Linked DNA regions of Homo sapiens: region 2 is linked to region 1. Evidence: promoter capture Hi-C in 16 types of primary human blood cells and fetal thymus (Javierre and others, 2016). All regions are on one chromosome and are shown on one strand. The core of a region is centred on a gene start or on the middle of the fragment in contact, and the rest is flanking DNA. Distances in the headings are between cores, read along the strand shown. Region 1 holds the start of CRB2 (crumbs cell polarity complex component 2). Region 2 overlaps STRBP (spermatid perinuclear RNA binding protein).

What was found. Contacts are between HindIII fragments. The CHiCAGO score rates a contact against its expected background, and 5 or more counts as called.
Region 2: a contact is called between a fragment that was not itself captured here and the fragment with the promoter of CRB2 in region 1, in 3 of 17 cell types (naive B cells, total B cells and naive CD4 T cells). The highest score is 7.5, in naive B cells.

The regions. Positions count from the first base shown.
Region 1 is chr9:123,353,270-123,359,159 of GRCh38, forward strand. It overlaps CRB2 (crumbs cell polarity complex component 2), which reads left to right and starts at 2,928. Exons shown (of 13, transcript NM_173689.7): 1 at 2,928-3,085. The coding sequence starts at 2,992. RefSeq lists silencers at 749-858, 879-928 and enhancers at 891-1,390, 1,059-1,228, 4,609-5,276. The HindIII fragment of the contact is 7,167 bases long and covers 1-4,204 here.
Region 2 is chr9:123,148,273-123,154,162 of GRCh38, forward strand. All of the region lies in intron 11 of STRBP (spermatid perinuclear RNA binding protein), which reads right to left. Among named protein-coding and RNA genes, the nearest start is that of MIR600HG, 36 kb to the left of the region's middle. The HindIII fragment of the contact is 2,912 bases long and covers 1,256-4,167 here.

The DNA.
Region 1 (5,890 bases), core at 1,678-4,177:
AGCCAGCATGACACAGCCCACAGGTGCCAGCAGGGCAAGGGCGGCTCTGGGTGGGGAGTAGGGACAAACAGAACAACCAGTGAGACCCTGAGAAGGGAGATGTGAGACCCTGGGGAATGATCCAGAGCAGGAGTCACCTGGAAGGGTCTGAAGGGGTTCCTTCTGGTGGGCTCCTCAGTGGGGAGGGTCACTATCCTCCCACGACGAGGCTCTGACAGCAGCCGCCCAGTCCTTGCAATGTTCTCAGGCAGATGCTGTGATGATCCCATTTACAGATGGGAGAACTAAGACGCAGAAAAGGAACAGACCAACAAAAGCTCACCTAAGGGCAGAGAGCAGGAACCGGATTCAAACCCAGGTCTGCCTGATGCCAAAGCTGGGACTCCCAACCACTGAACCTTGCTGTCGCATGTGCCCATCAGCTTGAGAGTTGGTGGGAATCCCGGCCCAGGACAGCGTCCCCTCAGCCAGGGAGGTGGCAGCAAGTCATGCTCAGGCTAGTGGAGGGGCAGTTAGTAACCTGCAGTCGGAGGTTCACCAGTGGAAAGGCTGGAGTCGGGCAGACCCAACTCGAATCCTGCCAGGCACTGGTGCTGGGCTGCTCACCTCTCTGTGCCTCGGTTTCCTCATCCATAGAATGGGGCCAATGCTGACTTTGCAGTGCTGCTGGTGGGTGGGGGGGGGGTAAACTGAGGTTATGTCGATTCCCTTCCCAGGTGGGGAGGACAGGGGAAGTGGATGCACCTGGGGGACCATCTCAGAGGAGCTGGCCCACTCTTACTGCCTTCTCCAGATCCGGACCAGGGAGCGGTCAAGATGGTGTGCCCTTGTCTGACCTCCGTCCTGCCTGCTGTCCAGCGACTCCCTGGCTTCCTCCCCGTCACGTGGGACTCCTGTACCCGGTGCTGTCGGGGGAGCCCCCCTCCATACCCTCCAGACCTCACAAGACACTTCCAGGTCTGGCCACAAGGTGGAGTGTGGCGGCTGCAGGACAGTGCTGGGGGCCGGGCTGCAGAGGAGACTGGACCTGCGCCGGGTGACCTCCCCGCTCTGTGAAAGTGTGGGAGTTTGTGTCTGTGCATCCAGAGAACCAGAGGGTGGTGGTTGACTTGCCGTGCTCCCCCCAGCCCCCCATTGGGATTGCCTGGGTCTCTGGGGGATCACTGAGAAGCTGGATAAAGAGAGCTGGCACTGTCGCCTTGGCTCACTAACGCCACCATTTTACAGGTGAGGAGACTGAGGCCCAGAGAAGGAAGTCACGTGCTGAGGTCACCGGCTAATCAGTGGCTGAGCTGGGCTCGAACCCAGATCTCTTACGCTGTGAGGCCTCTGCTTTTCCTGTGGCATGGAGAGGGGCTTCTCCCACCTGGGGAGAGGGATCCTGTTGTATTGGAGAGGCAGGGGATTAAAGATGGACTGAGAGAGGTTAGTGTCCCAGAAACCAAGGGGCAATCCCTGCCCTGGAGAGAACAGGCCTCAAGGGCAGGGATGGGGCAGGGGCAGTGGATAAGGAGTCTACCCAGGCCTTTTTGGGTTCCCTCCTTTGGTCCCTGGGGACCCAGGGCTGTGGCACTTGCCCCGGGCTAGAGGGTCGGCCAGGGCCTGTGTGGTGCCCACTGCTCCCTCCCCTGCACTGCAGGGGACCCTTGCCCATCCCTCTAGCTCATCTGGACCTCCCTCAATGGCTCCTGCTGTCTTTCCAGGCTGTGTCCTCCCGTGTCAGGGACACATCCCAGAGCCCAGGGCCTGCGTGGGCTGTATCCACGGTTACTGAATAGGGACAAACAGGCATGTATTGGCAGGGGCCGGTGGCTCATTTCAGGAAAGTCCCTTCAGCAAGAGGATTCTCTCCCCACTGGGGCTGAGGGTGGTAGAAGAAAGGAATGTTGTTCTATGTTGTAGTGTCTCTGAGATGACCTGGCTTCCTGAACCAGGTCCCCCTGAAGAGCTCCTCCTGTCCACCCCAACAAGAGGCCAGCTGGAGAGCAAGCAAACATCGAGTGCAGCAGGAGACTATAAGGTTAGACAACAAGAAGGACTTCCTGGCAGGGGAGAGCAATGCTTGCTTGGTTAGAGCTGCCTTTCAGTAGAATGGGCTGCTTTGGATTGCAGTGAGGTCGCTGGAGTTGCAAACAGCAGAGCCAGAGATCAAGGTCAAGTGGAAGAAAGCTGGGAAAGGTTCAGTTTGGCTGGTGAAGGGTGGAGAGGGTAAAGGGAGGCAGGGACCACCGTGGTGCAGGGGTGAGGTGCCCTGCAGGGAGCTGATCCTGAGGCCGATGGTGGGAGGAGCTGTGTGTGGTCGGGTGGGACGGGGTGGGGACAGCAGGAGACACTGAGAAGGTGGCATGGCCAGGAGCTAGGGGCTGACCGAGTGTGGGGAGGGGGGAGTGGGGAGGGGGCGTTGGGCTGCCCGATGGGAGGTGCCTTGGCTCCGATGGGAGCACTGGGGAGCAGCAGGTGGGGGGACGAGCTGGGTGGGAGGGGCTGCAGCTTCCCAGCAGAGACAGGGTCTGGGAGGCGACTGGACTCGAAGGCCTGGGCTTGGGAGAGAGGCCCGGGCTGGAGAGGTGGGGAGGGGGATCCAGGAGAGGGGATAACTAAGGACTTGGGAGTAGCTGGCATCACCTGGTGAGACGAGAGTCCTGAACAGCCCCCTCTCCAAGGACAGAAATTTCTCCAAGGAGGCTGACCTGAGAGGTGGGAGGAGAGTGGGGCAGAGGGTCAGGAGGGAGAAACCAGTGGGTGCCAAGACCAGGTCAGCCCCACAGGCTAGGGGGCTTGAGGACTTGGGGCTGATGTCTAGGGACGTCCACGAGGTGGAGCAGCCCAGGAGGCCTGGGTGGGAGGAGGAGGCGGTGGCGGGGAGGGGAGGGAGGGGCTGGGCCTCTGTCCACAGCATTAGTGCTGGTTGGAGGGACGAGGGGGGTGCGGAGCCAGCCAGGCCGCCCTCCCGTTCTCACAGCAGCCGAGCAGAGCGCAGAGCGGGCTGCCATGGCGCTGGCCAGGCCTGGGACCCCGGACCCCCAGGCCCTGGCCTCTGTCCTGCTACTGCTGCTCTGGGCCCCTGCCCTTTCCCTCCTGGCTGGTGAGTTGGGGCCCATGTCTGGAGGGGCCTGGGAGAGGGTCTGTCCCCCAAGACAGATACCCCAAGCCTTGGCTGCTGGGGTGGTGGGTGGGCTGGTCCGCGTGGGTGCAGGCCTGAGCTGTGGGGTGCACAGGAGTGCGCGGCTGTGGCCCCCAGACTCTGTGGGGCTCCACGGAGGTGAGTGTGTTCTGAGGCTCGGGGCTGTTTCATGTTGAGGGGGGTTGTAAGTTTCGGGGTTGGGGGATCGGGGGCTGGGCATGATTTGGGGGAGCTGATGCGGGTGAGGGATGGGGTGCGTGTTTTGGGAGGTGCTGTGTTGCATCCTGTAAAGGGCTGGGGGACTTCTGGGTTTCTAGGGGCTGAGTTTGGGGAGTTGCAGGTGGCATAAGCCTCACCCCAGAGCTTGTTCTGTGTCGCATGCTGGGTTGTGGGGCACAGGTTGTGGGTGTGTTAGAGTTGGGAGGTGGATGAGCTGTCTGGGGTGAGCCGTGAGTTGTGTCCGAGGAGTTGGGTGTGGTGAGCTGTGTCCTAGCACACGCTGTGGGGTGTAGGTTGTCCAGGGTTGAACTAGGTCTTTGCTCTCAACATGAGGGGTGTGGGATGTGCACAGCCGACCCCAACTCGGGACTGAGTGGAGAAGCGTGAGGGAGACTCAGGGAGCTGGGTGCCTGCCCGCACCCCTCCATTTGTGCGGTAGCCCTGCCTGTGCTGAGGGCTGCTGGGGATGCTCTGGGTCCCTGTGGGGTGGCTGGGGATTTGGGAACATGTGTGTGTCCCCTGCTGCCCCCTCCCCAGCATTCCAAGGCCAATCTGAAAGGGCTCCCTGAAGCCAGACCACATTTGCCAAGCCCTTTTTGCTTTTGTCCAAGCTCTCGGAGCCTGGAATTCCTCCTGGGGGGTCCAAGGGAACGCTTGGTGTTAGTTACTATAGTTACAGGGGCCGGGCCTGGGAAGTCCCCTGCCCCCACCACCACAGGCTGGGGAGGGAGCCAAGGAGGGCCTGGGCTCTCCTGAGGCTGGGGGAGCCCTCCCTGCCCCAGAGCTCCACAGGCTGTAGGGTGTGGGGGCCAAGTGTCTCCCAGTCCCACCTGGGGACCCTCATGTTTCCCGCACTCACAAAGCTTTCATTTCCTATCCTCTCTATGGGGCCCTAGGGAGGATGAGGACCCCATTTTGCAGTGAAGGAAACCAAGGCTCAGAGAGGGACGGGGACTTATGAGCTGGGCTCTGCTGGCAGGCGACTTGGGCTCCATAGAGGGGTGGGGCATGGTGGCGGGGGGCGGGGTGGCTGCTCCTCTCTGTTCTCTGCATACAAAGCACGTGAGATCCCGGTCTGTGGATCGGTGCTCTGTCCCCTGCCCTGTGATGCTCACACACCCACACTCCGCACACCTGTGTGGCATGCCCAAGGGCACACAGCACCACAGGGACAGGTGCTACAGACACATGTGGATCTACCAGCACATGCACCTACCTACACACATGGCATGTGCCTGCACACCAATGTGCACACCCCAACACGCACATGTGGACATGTGTGCATTCACACTCAGTGTGCACTCACAGGGGACCTGGAGGCACAGAGTGGATGGAGGCTGTGGGGGGTCTGGACACTGGTGTGTACACTCAACCCATCAGGCCTGCTGGGTTGCCCAGGGGCAGCCTTTCCTCTGCCATTTCTGTGCTGGGAGCGCCATCCCTGGGGATCCCTAAAAGTTGGTGGGGTACACTGCAGGCATGACCATTTCTGCATGCTGGTACCCTAGACTGCCTGCCGGGAGGGGAGGGATTGGGGATTTTGTCACTTGAAAACCAATTTCCATCCTGGAGGGGATGGGGGCTTCTGGAGGCCATGGGCCCCTGGCTTTTCTCCCCACCCCTGCCAGGCCCTGAGCTGGGCCTCTCCATCCTGGGCCCAATTTGCCACAAAGGCCCGGCTGGTTGCCATGGAGAGGACCAAGCATCTTGGAGTACAATGGGGCACGTTGGGCTCTCATATCCACCCTCCCTTCCCCAAACACCCAGGGAGCCCAGCAGACAAAGGGGCAGTGAGTCCAGGCCCCAAGTCCGGCCCCTCCTCCAGCCAGAAGGGGGTGGGGGCCTGCAGGACAGAAGCAGAGATGGAGCAGAAAGCCACACACATTCAACCCAATGTCAGGATCCTTTGGACAGTGGGTGTCTGCCTCAAGTAAAGAATTGTTAATGAGTAAGATCAGCCACTCCATGGCAGGCACTGTGCTATTATTAACGAGGTCTAATTTAATTCTCCCAACAGCCTATGAAGTCAGCTCTGATACCCCTAGTTTACAGAGGAGGTAAACGAGGCCCAGAGATGGCCAGTCCCAGAGCCAGGAAGCCCCAGAGCCAGTGCTGGGATTTCACAGTACACTGTGCTACTTGCCTAGGCAAAGTCACGTCTCTTCTCTGTCTCTACAAAACGAGGACAGACTGGCTTACTCCGAGCGCTGGTATAAGGATTGGAAGAGAATGCAGTGAGCGGTTCCCCACCCCAGGTTTTGGCATGGAACCCCCAATTTCAAGGGAAATTTTAGATGGAAGCCCATGAATAGTTAATAGTAAAATTGTTAAAAGTGGCCTGTTTGGGTGGCAGGTGGGGAACCCCACCTGCTCTGTCTCCCCCTCACTTCAGGAGGTAACTCCCTGGAACTGTGCTCTGAGCCCAAACTCTCAAGGGTTGGTCAGTGCCAGGCACAGGGTAGGTGCTCCGTCCCTGACAGCTATTGTTGCAATTACTGTTATCAAAATTATGTCTTTTAACCTCAGAAGGTAAACATTTTTGAAAAA
Region 2 (5,890 bases), core at 1,462-3,961, 210 kb before region 1:
ACTGTTTGTCCCTTCTGCCATGTGGGGATACATAGCAGGCACCATCTATGAGCAATGAGCCCTCACGAGACAGCAAATCTGCTGAAGCCTTGATTTTGGACTTTCAAGCCCCTGAGGGCAATAAATTTCTGTTGCTTATAAGTTACCCAGTCTAAGGTATTTTGTTTTAGCAGCCGCACAGACAGCATATATTCACGTTATATGCATGAAGAGAAAAAGTCTAGAAGGCTATATATCAAAATGTTAAAAAGTAGCTACCTCTGGTAGGATTTATTTTTACTTAATATCATTTCAAACATCTCTATAATTTAACATTTATGACTTGTATAAACTTTAGAAGTCCACGTTACATCTTATACTTTTAGAAATCTGATTATCCAACTATAAAATATTCTTCTGCCTCTTCAAATCCTATTCAAAATTTTATTTACAGTTCACCTCCTCTATAAAAATGTTCTCTCATATCAGAGATTTTATATCAGAAATGTAAAGTCTTGTATCATTGCCTATTTCATATATTCTTGTGTGTCTTCAGTGCTCTTTGAAGGTCAAAGATATTTTTTCCTTGTCTTGTATCTTACAAACTACCTTAACACAAGACTTAGAAGCAACATAATGGGCACTGAGCAAAAACTAACTGAATTGATTAATAATCAGTTTCTTGGATAAAGAAGCCACCAATTTATAATGTTGTCAAGCAAAAGGCAGCAGTTTTGCTGTCCAAGTTAAAAATTATTAGAGAAAAGTTCATCAACCTATTCAAGTACTTTAAAGATCTCATCTCTTTATGTCTTCACTTTAAAAGTTAGTTGTTTTTCCTAAGGAAAATTATGCTCAAGATACTCATGCCACAAGATTTCCAGATTCTTCTAGTGAAAGCCTATAATAATAATGAGATTAACTATGTATTTTCTGATCAAGATTTATTGTCCCTTGAGGTAAACACTGACTTCAGCATTTGCTTGGGTCAATATTTACCACTCAGGTTAATCAATCTTGATGTTCTCTTCAACAGAAGGCAACGTTGGCTGAGTATTATATTTCATTTGCATTACATACAACTATGAGTATGCCAGTCTCCCAGAATGCAGTCTTTAAGAGATAAAAGTTAAAAAGGAACTATGTCTATTCAATCACTCTTCTGCTCATTAAGTTACATTAAAAGCAGCTTCTTGATTGCCTGGAAATCACAAGCTAGCTTAAATGCAGAGATCTCTTCTCTAAATCCTCCAGCTACATAGAGTTCTATGGATTAAGCTTCATTCTATCATAGCAGCCATTGGAAAGGGGCTGTAAAATGTGGGGCTAATCATAATAGCAACCTAAGGAGAAAAAGGGTCTTGCTTTACAAAAAGCAGGTGGTATTCAACCTTCACAATATCTAGTGATGAGAAGTGATCATTTCTGAGGCAACAATTTTTAAAAATAATATTTTCGTATTTACCATATGCCTGACACTGTTAACATCTTACAGGTATTAACTTATTTAATCCTCATGAGCACCCTCATGAAGCCATTACCTTTACTGTCCCCATTATAAATTCATTCATATATTCATTCAACAATAAACAAGAAATATTAATTGACATTTACTATGTGCAAGACAATTTTAGGCGCTAGACACATAGCAAGTAACAAAATAATCTCCCTTTTCTCAAAGAGCTTACATATACTGGCCAAAACTAATTACAACATATACTATGGGTAGTGAGTGTAATGAAGGACAATTTATATGTCGTGCTCAGCAGAAAGGTATCACTAATGAGGAGACCTTTTGATGAAGACCTGAGAAAGTAAAACAGTGAACTATTCAGCCATTTGGAGAAAGAGTCCCAGGCAGAGAAAAATAAACAGCAACTACAAAAGTCTTAAGGCAGAAACATGCTAAGAAATGATGCAAAGGCCTGAGTGGTTGGAGTGAAACAAACAAGGAGAGGGTGCTAGCAGTAGGTGAGAAGAGCCAGGCAGTAGTTCTCAAACCCCGGTGCCATTAATTGACAAAATATCAAGGGCCCACTTCCAGTATGAGAGAGTAAATAAGTCAAAAAAGGCTTCCCAACTAGAGCAATTAGAAAAACTGGGCAAAACAAACAATAAGTATCTGTTCCTGGGCAATGAAGAATTTTAAAATCAAGATCTGGGAGGTGAGCCTGGCACGGTGCCACATGCCTGTAGTCCCAGCTACTCAGAAGGCTGAGGCAGGAGGATTCATTGAGTCCAGGAGTTTGAGGTTAAAGTGGGCTATGACTGCACCTGCAAATAGCCACTGGACTCCAGCCTGGGCAACATAGCCAAGCCGTGTTTTCTTAAATAAATAAATTAATTAATTAAAATAAACAAAAAAAGATATGGAAGGTGAAAGAAATTCTCTGCATTGGGGGTTACATTAACCCTAGGGGCATCTTCCTAATCCAGAAGAGGTCACTAAGAACTGAAGAGAGTAATGTCAACAGGCTCCCAGGTCTCAAGGAGTCCAAAACTAAGTTCAAGGTCCAAGCAGAGAAGGGCTGGTGAACCCCCCACACACTGGGTTGGGCCTCTGAAATGTTATACACTAGAAGTAAGATGAACGGGAAATATTTCTTCATCCTTGTGGCTCTCACAAGGATGAAAGCCCAGCTTCAAATTATCTTAATCCCTGACTACACTGAAATGATCTAAGACTGCCAATTTCATTAGTCACCTCCCAGAAACAAATATAAATCCTCCCTGGAGGAAGATATCATTACTCTACACTTTAAATTATCTACAATTTCTTATTTTAAAAATCCAGCACTCATAATAACCAGGCACATGAGAAGATATCATGATCAAAAATCAAGAGAAATCACACACAATAGAAAAAGACCCAAAATGGACCCAGATGATGGACCTTTCAAAAACAAACTTTCTTAAAAATAATTTCAGGCAGAAAATCTGAAACGATAAAAGAGCCAAAAATCTATAAATGAAAAATATAAACTAAAACCTGGCAGGCCTGCAAGGGGAAATGACAAATCCACAATAGATGGGAACTGTCAGAGCTCTCTCAGCAATTAATAACAAACAACATCTGAAAAGCACAATGAACAAGTGACCTGACATGACCTAACACGAAAAAAATATTATGACCCTCAACTGCAGAATATACATTTTCAGAGCAAAAAACGACCATGTGCTGGGGCATAAAATAGGTCTCAAGAAGTATCAAAGGACAGAAATCATACAACACATGTTCTTCGATGACAGCAGAATAAGTAAAAACTCAAAAACAAAAGAGTTAACTACAAAATCTTCATTTGTCTGCAAATTAAGCAATGACATCTAAATACCCCATGGGTCAAAAAATTAGGAATAAAAGAAAGTAAAAAATAGCTTTAACTAAATGATTATAAACATACAAATGTCCAAAGACTGTGATGTACATAAATCTGTGCTTAAAGGGAAATTTACCATCTTAATAGTATATAAAATAAGAGGATGAAAAATCAATGATGTATTCATCCACCTCATAAAGTTTAAAAAGAGCAGCAAATTGAACCCAAAGAAAGTCATAAGGAAGGAAAACTACAGAAAAGAGCAGAAACCAATAAAACAGAATACAAACATGCAACAGAAGACAATGAATAAAGCCAAAAGTTAATTTTCCTATAAAGATTAATAAAAATAATAATCCCCTAGGTGAGAGTCATTAGCAAAATAAAATAAGGTACAAAATGTATAAAAGAGGACATTACTACAAATACTACAGACAATAAAATGAGGATCTTATAAATTACTTTATTCTAAAATATTTTTAAATTTAGTTGAAATGGATAAATTCTTAGAAAAACATAGCTTACCAAAACTGTCCTAAGAAGATGGAAGTCCTATGCTTATTAAGGGAATCAGATCCGTAATTTAAAACATTTCCACAAAGAAAACACACACCAATGGCTTCACTGATTAATTCTTCCAACAGTTAAAGAAAAACTAACATCAAATTTATGCAAACTTTTCCAAACAATAGAAAAAGAAGGAATAGGTCCTAACTTACTTTATGAAGCCAGCATAACATTGAAGCCGAAACACAGGAGAATTGGTGACAAATCTAACACACAAAAACCTGTGTTTTTGTGACTTGCCCACAAAAACCTAAATTTTATATATAAATATACACACGTGTATATATATATGATTGTTCATAGAAGCTTCAACTGTAAAAAGCCCAAACTGGAAACTAACTAAATGTCCTACAATAGGTAAACAGTTAAATAAACTCTAGCTCATTCATACCATGGAATACTACTGAACAAGAAGGTACAAACTATTGACACACACAACAACTTGGATGGACCCTAAGGGCATTATGCTGAGTGTTAAAAAAAAAAATCGCAAAAGGTCACTTATTGTAGAATTCCATTTATATAAAATCACTGAAATTATAAAATTATGGAGATGGGTAAATCTTAGTGGTTTCCCGGGATTAGGGATGGCTGAGCAGAGAGAGGCGGGTACGACTATAAAGGGGCAGCATGAAGCAGATCTTAATGGTGTTGGAACAGTTCTGTATGTTGATTGTGGAGGTGGCTACAGAAATCTACACACGTAATAAAATGGCATAAAACTTACACACACGCACTGTATCACTGTCAATTTCCTGGTTTTGATATTGTACTATAAATTTACATAGATGCAGCCATCAAGAGAAACTAGCTGAAGGGTAAATGGGATCTCTCCTTATCATCTTTGCAACTATGAATCTGCAAGTATTTTAAGATAAAAAGTTGAAGAGGGGTGGTGTTCTCCATAAAGAGAATTGCTTCTTTGTGGAGAACAGATAGAGGGGCAAGAACAGAAGCAAAAAGACCAGACCAGGAGGTGACTGCAATAATCCAGGTGAGAGATGATGGCAGCTTAGATAAGGATGTCAGCAGCGAAGAAGCTAAATTCTAGACTCATTTTTTTTTTTTTTTCTGAGACAGAGTCTCGCTCTGTCACCAAGGCTGGAGTGCAGTGGCATGATCTGGGCTCACTGCAACCTCTGCCTCCCGGATTCAAGCGATTCTCTTGCCTCAGCCTCCCGAGTAGCTGGGATTACAGGAGCATGCCACCACGCCCAGCTAATTTTTATGTTTTCAGTAGAGACGGGGTTTCGCCATGTTGGCCAGGCTGGTCTTGAACTCCTGGTCTCAAGTGATCTGCCCACCTCAGCCTCCCAAAGTGCTGGGATTACAGGTGTGAGCTACCACCCGGCCTGGACACACTTTAAAAGCAAAAAGGATTTGCTGACGTTTGGGATATGGGTGAATGAAAGAGGGGATTCAAGGGCAACTCAGAGAATCCTGGCCTGAGCAAACGGAGAGTTTCCAATGACTGGGACAGGGATAACTATAGAAAGAGAAGAGCAAAGGGAGAGCGAGGGCAGGAGCTTAGATCTTAGACATCTTAAGTTTGAGATGTCTGCTGGACATCCATGTAGCGATATTGAGGAGGCATTTTGATATTTTGGTCTGAGTTCAAGAGCTGGTAGTCTGGGATGGAAGTATTAATTTGGGACAATCTTCAGTATAAAAAGGTATTTGAAGACAAGAGACTAAATGAGGTCCCCTAAAGCATCAGTGTAAAGAGAAAGGGTCTGAGGACTGAACCCTAGGACACTTTAACATTCAGAAGTCAGGAAGATGAGAAAGAACAAAGACAGCTGAGGAGATGGCAACAGAGCTAGAAGAACAAAGGAAGCTGATGACCTGGAAGTCAAATGAAAAGTGGTATTTCATTTCAGAAAACATGGCAATACCAAATGTTTTTGAGGATACAGGGCAACAGGAATTTTCATATACTGCTGGTGGGAGTGTAAATTGGTATGTGCAACCATTTACTAGGTTGTTTATGTGTATACCTCAGGAGGTATGCAGAAGAATGCTCATGG